Regions from separate parts of the Homo sapiens genome. Here all the other regions are linked to region 1. The links are contacts of gene promoters, found by promoter capture Hi-C in human tissues and cell types (Jung and others, 2019). All regions are on one chromosome and are shown on one strand. Each heading gives the region's core, a stretch centred on a gene start or on the middle of the fragment in contact. The rest is flanking DNA. Distances are from core to core; before and after follow the strand shown.

Evidence for each region. Contacts are between HindIII fragments. The study calls those that stand out against the background at their distance.
Region 2: a fragment that was not itself captured here is called in contact with the fragment with the promoter of RASGRP2 in region 1 in 1 of the 25 tissues and cell types used here (pancreas).
Region 3: a contact is called between a fragment that was not itself captured here and the fragment with the promoter of RASGRP2 in region 1, in 2 of the 25 tissues and cell types used here (hippocampus and thymus).

The regions. Positions count from the first base shown.
Region 1 is chr11:64,742,152-64,745,395 of GRCh38, reverse strand. It overlaps RASGRP2 (RAS guanyl releasing protein 2), which reads left to right and starts at 1,254. Exons shown (of 17, transcript NM_001098671.2): 1 at 1,254-1,393; 2 at 2,459-2,602. The coding sequence starts at 2,530. RefSeq lists silencers at 138-337, 588-697, 1,688-1,737, 1,898-1,947, 2,258-2,587. The HindIII fragment of the contact is 18,641 bases long and covers 1-3,244 here.
Region 2 is chr11:64,929,775-64,933,136 of GRCh38, reverse strand. PPP2R5B (protein phosphatase 2 regulatory subunit B'beta) reads right to left here. Exons shown (of 14, transcript NM_006244.4): 7 at 2,756-2,815; 8 at 2,548-2,656; 9 at 1,648-1,701; 10 at 1,528-1,578; 11 at 1,269-1,388; 12 at 245-372. Among named protein-coding and RNA genes, the nearest start is that of GPHA2, 4.4 kb to the left of the region's middle. The HindIII fragment of the contact is 3,170 bases long and covers 57-3,226 here.
Region 3 is chr11:64,493,548-64,496,457 of GRCh38, reverse strand. LOC124902690 (a long non-coding RNA gene) reads left to right here. Exons shown (of 2, transcript XR_007062721.1): 2 at 1-1,010. Among named protein-coding and RNA genes, the nearest start is that of LINC02724, 46 kb to the right of the region's middle. The HindIII fragment of the contact is 6,812 bases long and covers 1-2,910 here.

The DNA.
Region 1 (3,244 bases), core at 5-2,504:
CCATCCCCCAGACTATCTCAAGGACCAGCTGTCCCCACGCCCCCGACCTCCACTAGGCCTGTGCCACCCGCTGCCTGCAGGAAGACGCCCGGTCCCGGGCCGGGTTAGCCCCATGGGAACGGTTTGTCTCGAAAACAGGAACCCGAGCTGGGGGCTGGGCGGGGCGCCCCTTCCCCACCGCAGTCCGCTTCCTGCCCCTCCCGGCTTCCTCCGCCCGACACCCAGGCAGGGCGGGGGGCACTGGGGCGTCCGCGGTTGGGGGAGGGGCTCTTCGTTTCGGTCCCCCCTCCGCGTCCCGGGCGGCGGGGCCTCCGGTCGCCCGCCCTCGGGGCAGCTAGTGGCGCAGCCCCCCGCCCGCGGCCCTGGCCTCCCGGGCGGCGCGGCAGGGGAGGGGTTAAGCTGCCGCAGGGACCGCCGCGTGCGGGGCGAGAGGGAGCCCCCGGTGGGGGTGGCGCAGCCGGCGGTGCGGAGCTCCGCGCAGGGGCGGAGGGGGGAGGGGGCAGCCTGGCGCGGGGGCGGGGGCGGGGCGGCGGGGAGCGGGGCCGCGGCGTGGAGAGCGGGCGGGAGCCGCAGCCGCAGCGAGGCCGGCGGGCGGGAGCGCACGGAGGTGGGGTCGGCCAGGCCGGTGCGGGCTCCTTGCGGCAGGTCCCAAGAGTGAGTGGGCGAGCGCGGGCGGGGCGCCAGGCGAAGGAGGGCGCGGCCCCCAGCGACTCCCCCCCCGCCCAGGGCGGCGCGGGCGGGCTGGGGGCGGCGAGCGGGTGGGGAGTCTGCGGCCCGGGTCTGGGAGAGGGGGCAGCGGCCACGAGAGCTAAGGCGCGCTGGATCCCCGGAGGGCGGAGGACCTCCACGGTGCACCCAGCTTTTCCCAGCCACCTTCCAGCGGGGCCCTCCCCCGCGTACCCCCATTTGGCAGATGAGAAAATTGAGGCTCCCAGAGGCCAAGTGATTCTCAAGGTCACACGAGGAAGCGGTAGAGCCAGGCGGGGACGGCTCTGGGTGGCTCTTAGGAAAAGTCCGCCTGAGAACTCCGTACAGGAGCTCCCCTGTCCTCCAGCCTGGGGGAGTGAGTATGTGTAGGGCCGGGGTACCTTTCCGTGGGGCAAGGCTCTGCCAAAATCTGGGAGTGAGGGGAGTCAGGGAGCTGGGGCCGCAGGGCGGGCCCTGCACCGCAAATGGGAGGGGGGCGACGGAATGGGCGTGCGCACCCATGGGGGTGTGTGCATGTGTGTGGGAGTGTACATGCGTGGAGAGGCACTGCCTTGCGTGTGTGCACACGTGTGAGGATGTCAGCGCCTGTGTGGCCGCGGGACTCAAGGCTGGCCTGGCTCAAGTGAACAGCACGTCCAGGAGGCGACCTCGTCCGCGGGTTTGCATTCTGGGGTGGACGAGCTGGGTATGTGTGCCTGAGGGTTTCTTCGTGCAGGTGTGCACAGGGTGTGGGTGCCATTGTGTGTGAGAGACGGAGGATGGGAGGCCGGTGCCTGTGGCCCGGTGCGTGTAAGTGCGGACGCCTGCACCTCCACTTAGGTCCCCGGCCTCCGACGAATAACTTGGGTGTGGAGTGTTTGCCCCTGCCAGGGTGCGTATGACCCCGCCAGTGACCGGAGTTGCTAATGGTGTCATGCACCCACCGGCCACCCTTGGCGCGAGCGCCCCCCTCTGGACACCCTGCTCCGTGCGCGCTCACAGTTCGCCTGTGCGGGGCCGGGGCCAGGGTCAGGAGCCGGGGATAGGGAGGAAGAGGGCCTGTGGACAAGCTGAGCCGGGACCCCTGGGACCTTTGCGGAGGTGGCCTGGGAGCGCTCAGTTCCCAGGCTCAGGCTTCCCGCTGACGCCTCCTGGCCGCAGCGGGCTCCCCCCGCCCCAGGAATGTTCCTCTCCCATCCAGTCCGCCTCCCCTAGGGCAGGCCCCCTGGGGGCTGCCGCAGCCCCGCCTCGCCTTCCTGGGCTCCCGGGAGGGGGCGAGGCGGGCAGGACGCCTGGGTTCTCTCCCCCCACCTCCCATACCAGGGAGAAATTCCTCCGAGGTCCCCTCAGGCTCTGGGTTCCCAAAATAACCCTGCGGGGGAAGGGAGGCTGTGGAGGGAGGGAAGCGGGAGGGGCGCAGAGCCGAGCTGCGGGGTGCTGCAGGTGCCTCTGGGGAGAGGGCGCGAGGAGAAGGCGCCCTGCGGGGGGCTGGGCGCCAGCCAGTCCTGGGATCTTGGTTCGTCCCCATCCTCGTGAAGCCCCTCGGCCTTCCCGCGACTCCGAGGGTGGGCCGGAAGCCTCTCTGCGGGTCCGTTTCCCAACTGGCGGGTTGCACCATCCCGGGCCAGACCGTTTAACCCCGGGAGTGGCCGCGGGGGACAACTCCGCCCCTGTCCAGCAGGGGGCGTGCCCGCCCCGCCCCGTTTCTGCCCGCGGGGCCGCTCCCCCGCCCGCGACTCCGCAGACTCCCGCTCTGCCTCTCCCGGGACAGGGGTTCGGTCCGAGCCCGGTGGGAGGCTCCCGGAGCGCAGCCTGGGCCCAGCCCACCCCGCGCCGGCGGCCATGGCAGGCACCCTGGACCTGGACAAGGGCTGCACGGTGGAGGAGCTGCTCCGCGGGTGCATCGAAGCCTTCGGTGAGTGGCTCGGGAGGGCACACGGAGCCTGAGCCTAGCCCCGAGTCTGAGCCCGGGTCCCTGCCTCCCAGGCACAGTCCAGGGCACAGCCCTGACCCGGACCCACCCTGCTCCGCAGCGTGCAGTCTCTTTAACGAAAGCCTCCTCCGCAACGCAGGGCAGAGAGATGCACGCCCTTCAGACAGATGAGGTTTCCCTTCTCTAGCCTTCCCCAGCGGCGGCGAAGGGAGGGCCGGGTCCCGGACTCTGACACTTGAGGGGCATTATCTGTCTCCCGGGGAATCCGGAGGAACTCGCTATCTCCGGCCTGGGAGCTGTTTCCGGCTAATGGGGGGCGGCTTATCTGGTGAAGGGGTGCCCCTTCCCCCCAAGCGCTCAGGAAATGACCTCTGGATTCTTGACCCCGGGGAACCCAGGCTCCTTCCGCCCCAGCTGGTTCCCCTCCGGACGATGGGCGGCTCGGGCGCTCCCCTCCTCCAGTCCTCAGGGCGTGCCTATCTCTCGCCCACCACACCTTTCCTCTCTAATTTGCCTCCTGCTCTCGGAGTCCTGGGCAAGCAGGAGGTGGGCGGGGTCGAGCGTGCACCCGAAGGACCGATACCTGGCGGGTTGCGGGGTGAGGATGAGGCATGGTAGCTGCGG
Region 2 (3,362 bases), core at 392-2,891, 190 kb before region 1:
TGTCAAGGAGGGATGAGGAGATGAAACAGCTTTGGTTTGCCCACCTCTCCCTTTCCCTGCCCTTCACATACAGCATTCCACCTGAACACAAGCACTGCCCACTTTCCTGTCCTTTTCACCACCCCTGGGCCATCTTTTGATGCTTTCTCTGATATTCTCCAGCTAGGAGTAACCCTGGGGTCGGGTCTGGACTGGCTGGCCCTGGTCCCAGTTTCTGTGAGTTAGGTCATGGCCTGGCACTCACTGGTTCCAGTGCTCCTTGGAGACTTGGTAGAGGGTCCCAAACACAGCAGGCAGCACAGTGTGGCAGTTGTCCTCAATGAGGCTTAGGATATACTCATTGTTCCAGAAATACAGAGCCCGCTCTGCAACCTGGGGCAGACAAGATGGCAGAGTGATTAACTGGCAGTGGCTTCTCTCTGTGTGCAAGGTCTGGTGTCCATCACTACCTCAACGCCCAGGCCCCCTGACCTTCACACACCCCACCTTCAGGGCTTATCTGAGCCCTGGAGGAAGCAACAGTGTTGAAGGGAAAAGAGTTCTAGATACGGAATCCAATGCTGCGGGGTGAATCCTAACCACTACAGACTCTACTATGCCATGTGACCTTGGGAGAGGCATTTAACCTCCCAGCCTCAGTTTTCTCATCTGTAAAATGGGCTAATAATACCTATCTCAACAGGATGTTATAAGAATCAAATGAGATACTAGACTTTTAGGTGTTTAATGAACCGAAGTGCCAGAATCACTGTGAGGAAGACTTGACTTCCACTGGGTTATGGCCCATAAGAACGGGAGGAAGTCTGCACATGCTTGCAGCAGAACATGAGTTAGTTAGCTGGGTTGGTGCGGGGAAGCCTGGCTGCATCCCAAAGCGAGTCTAATGAAATCTAAGGCCACTAGCAAAAGGGGAAAAGTGATAACAGTCCTCCATCACATTCTGGATCACACTTCAGTTTACCAAACATGTTTACACTCACAATCTCTTCCATCCTTATCCCCACCCTGTGAAGAGGTTGTTGGCCCATTTTACAGCTGCGGAAGCTTAATCAGAATCAGAGTGGTGCAGTGATTTGCTCAAGGCCCCTCAGCCAGTGGAAGGCAGGTCCGAGGCTTCACCCTAGGTCTCCTGACCCTAAGTCCAGCATCTCCCCATTACCAGACCCGGGATTGGAGGAGAAACTGAGGGCAAAGGGAGCTTTATTAGGTCAGCTACCCAACCTTTCCAGGCCAGCCCTGCTCCCATCCCCGCCTGTCCTGCCTCATACCTGGAAATGGGGGCTGGAAACACAGCGAGCCACCTGCTTAAAAAGGGGCTCCTGGATCTTCACAAACTGGGAGGGCTCGATGACATCAAGAATCTCTTCCATCTCCCCCAGAAACATCACCTGGGTGGGTTGGGGAGGGGAGTAGGGACAGAGGGGCAGCAGCTCACATCTCCCCCTACACATACACACACCTGACTGCCTTCTAGAGGCCGAGCCCTCCCAGCCTCCCTCTGGCGGGCATCAAAGCCCTTCTTCATACCTCCTTCTGGGTGCAGGTTTTTGGCCAGTATTTGAGCAGCCCCCGGATCACCTGTGGGAGATGAGACAGGAGTCACGCCTGCAGAGGTGAGAGGCTGCCTTAGCCCCCAGAGGTACTCACGTGCTCTGTCAGAGTGGCATCCTTCTCCAGGAACTGCACCACACAGTATGCCAGCTGCAGGGGGTGACAGGTGGAGGGAAGGAAGACAGGTCAGGAAGGCACCAGGCGCCAAGGACTTGCTGTCCAGGACAGAATGCCAAATACTGCTCACCCACGGCCTGTTACTTTCTTATTCACCAAGCATTTATCACCTGCCTAGGATGTACCAGGCATCACATTCAGTGTGCTGGGAATACAACTCTGATCTCGCGGGGAGTGGGGACAGTCAACAAACTCATCTTTATAAATTTTGCAAAAGGTTCCATAATATGGCTAGTGTGGTGGCTCACGCCTGTAATCCAAGCACTTTGGGAGGCCGAGGCAGCAGAATCACTTGAGCCTGGGAGTTTGAGACCAGCCTAGGTAACATAGCAAGACACTGTCTCTACAAAAAAAAAATTTTTTTTAATTAGCCAGGCATGTGGCACATACATCTGTGGTCCCAGCTACTCGGGAGGCTGAGAAGGGAGGACTGCTTGAGCCCAGCAGGTAGAGGCTTCAGTGAGCCATGTTCATACCACTGCTCTCCAGCTGAGGCAACAGAGTACGGTTTTGTCTCAAAAAAAAAAATTGTGTATCAAAATCTCCCATAATAGATTTGTGTATCCAAATATTTGGGAATATAGATGGAGAAGAATGTAATTCTGCCAAGGGAGGGTAGAGAAGAAAAGCCTGGCTTCACAGAGCTGATATCTGAGGTTAGCCTTAAAGCGCCAGTGGGAATTTTCTAAGGTAGATGGAACAGAATTATAAAGACAAAGAAGGTGAGATAGGATCCCTGGAGGATCTGACCTCCAGGACCCACTGGCTGCCCTGACTGTCTGGAGCTCCTGCTGCAGCAGGGACAGGCCTGGGCCTCACCTGGGCATGGAAGACAGACAGCGACTTGACAGAGTGCAGGGGGATCAGGACGCGAACCAGGAACTGCTTGTGCTCCGTCTTCAGGGGCAGCGCAAAGCCATTGATGATGCTGAGGAGGAGGCAGAAGAGAGGAAGAGGGCTCAGGTGACCTGGCCCCAGTCCCTCCTTCCAGAATCCTGAGCTCCAGCTGAGGCCCAGGGAGAATCACCTTCCTAGGATCTCCAGCAGCTCAGCCACACCATTGAAGTGCTCGAATTCATAGATGAACCTGCAAGAGAAGAACGCAGGTGGGCTCAAAGCAAGCAGGGTAGGCCCAGTGCCCCCTTAGGCATCCTGCCTGCCCACCCTCACCTGCACGGCACGCTCATCCAACTCTCCCCCAACCCAGAGGCTGCGCTCCCTTCCCAACATCCCAAACCAGGCCCCATTGAGATCCCCGCCCCCCCACACTGAAATGCCCTTCTCAGCCCAGCCACCTCTGCCACTGAGTCCCAAGCTCAAGGCTCTCTTGCCAGTCAACCAAGAGAATGACAAACACTTAGCACATCTACTCCGTACCATGTAAGTCTCAGAATTATCCAGGGAGATGGGGCTTAAGAAATCCATCACATGGATGAAGAAATCAAGACTCAGCGGTTAAATAAAACAACCCCAATGTTAATAGGCAGGGAATCTAATGAACTCCAAGGTGCAGGAGGACAGGGATCATGGCTCACCCATTTTGTAGCTAATAACAACTAATGTTTCAGAGTCCCGGCCTCAGTCCAGGAGCTATGCTGAGTGCTTTGCAGGCAAGGCCCCATGTCACCTCGATA
Region 3 (2,910 bases), core at 252-2,751, 250 kb after region 1:
CCGAGTATCTGGGACCACAGGTGCACACCACTATGCCTGGCTAATTTTTTAAAAATATTTTTTGTAGAGACCAGGTCTCACCATGTTGTCCAGGCTGGTCTCAAACTCCTGGGCTCAAGTGATCCTCCCACCTGGGCCTCCCAAAGTGCTGGGATCACAGGCATGATTCCACCATGCCCAGTCTAGAATCACCTTAATATAAATTCAGGGCTTCAGATTTTCGGAGCTGTCCAGATGATGAAAAGCTAAGATTATTCTATTTCCTTCCGTGTAGCCCTTTGGGTCCTAGCCTAAAGTGGGATAGGGTTTACAGGTTCCCATCTGTGATCTTGTGAAATATATATTTGGTCTTTTCCTGGCACACAACTCTTAAAATTCTTGGAATTTTCAAAGTGATGAGTGTCTTTTGTAGCTAATGAATTCACTGATGGCTGACAGCCCCTATGTAGCTTCAGGATGGTGGCTGGTCACAAGAAAGACCAAAGCAGGATTATATGATTAGGACTTTCATCTTGTCCCCCACCAACCTCTGGGGAAGAGAGAGGGGCTGAAGGTTAAATGGCCAATGACCAATAATTTAATCAATCATGCCTATGTAATAAAGCTTCCATAAAAACCCAAAAGGGAACTACTACTCAGCCATAAAAAGGAATGAATTAATGGCATTCGCAGTGACTTGGATGAGTTTGGAGAAAATTATTCTAAGTGAAGTCACTCAGGAATGGAAAACCAAACATCGTATATTCTCACTGATATGTGGCAGCTAAGCTATGAGGACACAAAGGCATAAGAATGATACAATGGACTTTGGGGACCTGGGGGGATGGGTGGGGGGGGGGGCGTGGGATAAAAGACTGCAAATAGGGTGCAGTGTATACTGCTTGGGTGATGGGTACACCAAAATCTCACAAATCACCACTAAAGAACCTACTCATGTAACCAAACACCACCTGTTCCCCAATAACCTATGGAAAAATATAAAATAAATTAAAAAATTAAACAACCCAAAAGGACTTGGTTCTGGGAGCTTCTGGATAGCTGAACACGTGGAGGTTCCTGGAGGGTGTGCACCTGGAGAGGGAAACATGCCCCTTCCCCATACCTCGCCCTATGCATTTCTTCATCTGTATCCTTCGTAATATCCTTTGTAATAAACTGGTAAATGTAAATAAGTGTTTCCTTAAGTTCTGTAAGTCACTCCAGCAAATTAATCAAACCCAAAAAGGGGGTCATGGGAACCCCCATTTATAGCTGGTGGGTCAGAATTACAGGTGGAACAACCTGGGGCTTTCGATGAGCACTGGAAGTGGGGGCAGCCTTGTGGGACTGAGTGCTCAGCCTGTGGGATCTGACGCCGTCTCCAGGTAGACAGCGTCAGAATTGAATTGGAGGATGCCTAGCTGGTGTCCTCTGCAAAGTCGATTGATTGCTTGGTGTATGGGGGAAAAGATCAAGCAGATCAATCAAGAAGTATTGCTTGTTGATTATCGAGTGAGAGAATAGGAAAAGCACTTTTGTTGGTTTCTGGTTGTTCTTTTTCCTATGTCCTCAGACCACCCTTTCCCGGCACTCTGACTTTTGTCCCCTTAGCCTGAAGGGACTATGAAAAACAAGGCCCATCTTTTCAGGTATCTCATTGGGATGGGAAAATGTCCTCAGAGCAAAGCGGCTCTGAGTACTGAGAAGCACATGGCATCATGGAAGTAGGTTGGTTACCTAGAAAAGATTGATCAAATAAGCAAAATATTGAGGAAAATGAAAGCCAGGTTTCTCACTGCCGCAGAAGTTACAGACACGGAAAAGGAGGAAACTGGAATGAACGCTGTGTGTTAGATTATAATTGGAGGGATGAACTAATGGTTTTCAATACTTATGGACAGATACAGAAATGAATATAGATATAATTGTGTGTGTACGTACATGTGTTGCTAGCTTTATCCACCAAGAAGGCCTGGATGCAATAACACCCCAACAGCAATGAGCGTGCCCAGCACTCAAATCTTGGTTTCTAAATACCATTCTCCCCTAAAAGCAACCAGGATTTCTTGGGAAAATGGCTGATTCCAGGGTTGAGGTAGGAAAAGCACAAGATAAACCTATAACATCTTTTGTGCCAGAGAGTGAGCATGTGCTCAAAAATCGAAGGAGATGAATTAAAAGGACAGAGGAGCCAGCTCTAAAGGGGTCCCGCTTGTTCTGACATAATTTGAACACCAAACTAGATAATAATAACATAACCTATTGGATAAAACAGAAAGCCATATAGATACTAATGAATGAATACATAAATGAGGAGAAGAAAAAATTTTCTTACAACAAAATGCCAACTAACAAACGTGGAAGAAATTATGGAATTAGAAAAGTTACCATTTGGTAATCATCATAGCTGTTAGTAATCAGTAATTTAGCCAAGAAGTATCAGTAGATGTTAATGCTGATGAGTGAAAGTTTGAACAGGCAGGAATATTTACGTGGTTTCGAGGTACTTCTTTACAAAACATTTGTTAAATACAAAGGGAAAAATAATAACTTTACGGTGGAGACACCTGGCAGATACCATTTTAGCCAAGTGACCAAAGTCACAGTCAAAGCATGATGTCCCATCACCAGTCATAGGATAAATCTATGTTGTGTTCTCCCTGATAGGATACAATGGAAAGAACACAGCCCAACTGCTATGATAGTCCTGCCAAAAATGCGTAACCTGAATCTAATCAAAAGGAAGCATCAGACAATCCTGTACTTGAGGAACATTCTACAAAATAACTGATCTGTGCTTTTCAAAAGCGTCAGGTCATACAAATCAAGAAAAGACAGAGAAACTGTTAGATTGAAGGAGACTGAAGAGATATGTCAACTAAATACAACTTGTGACCCAAGATGAGATCTTGTTGGTACAAAGGATGTTCC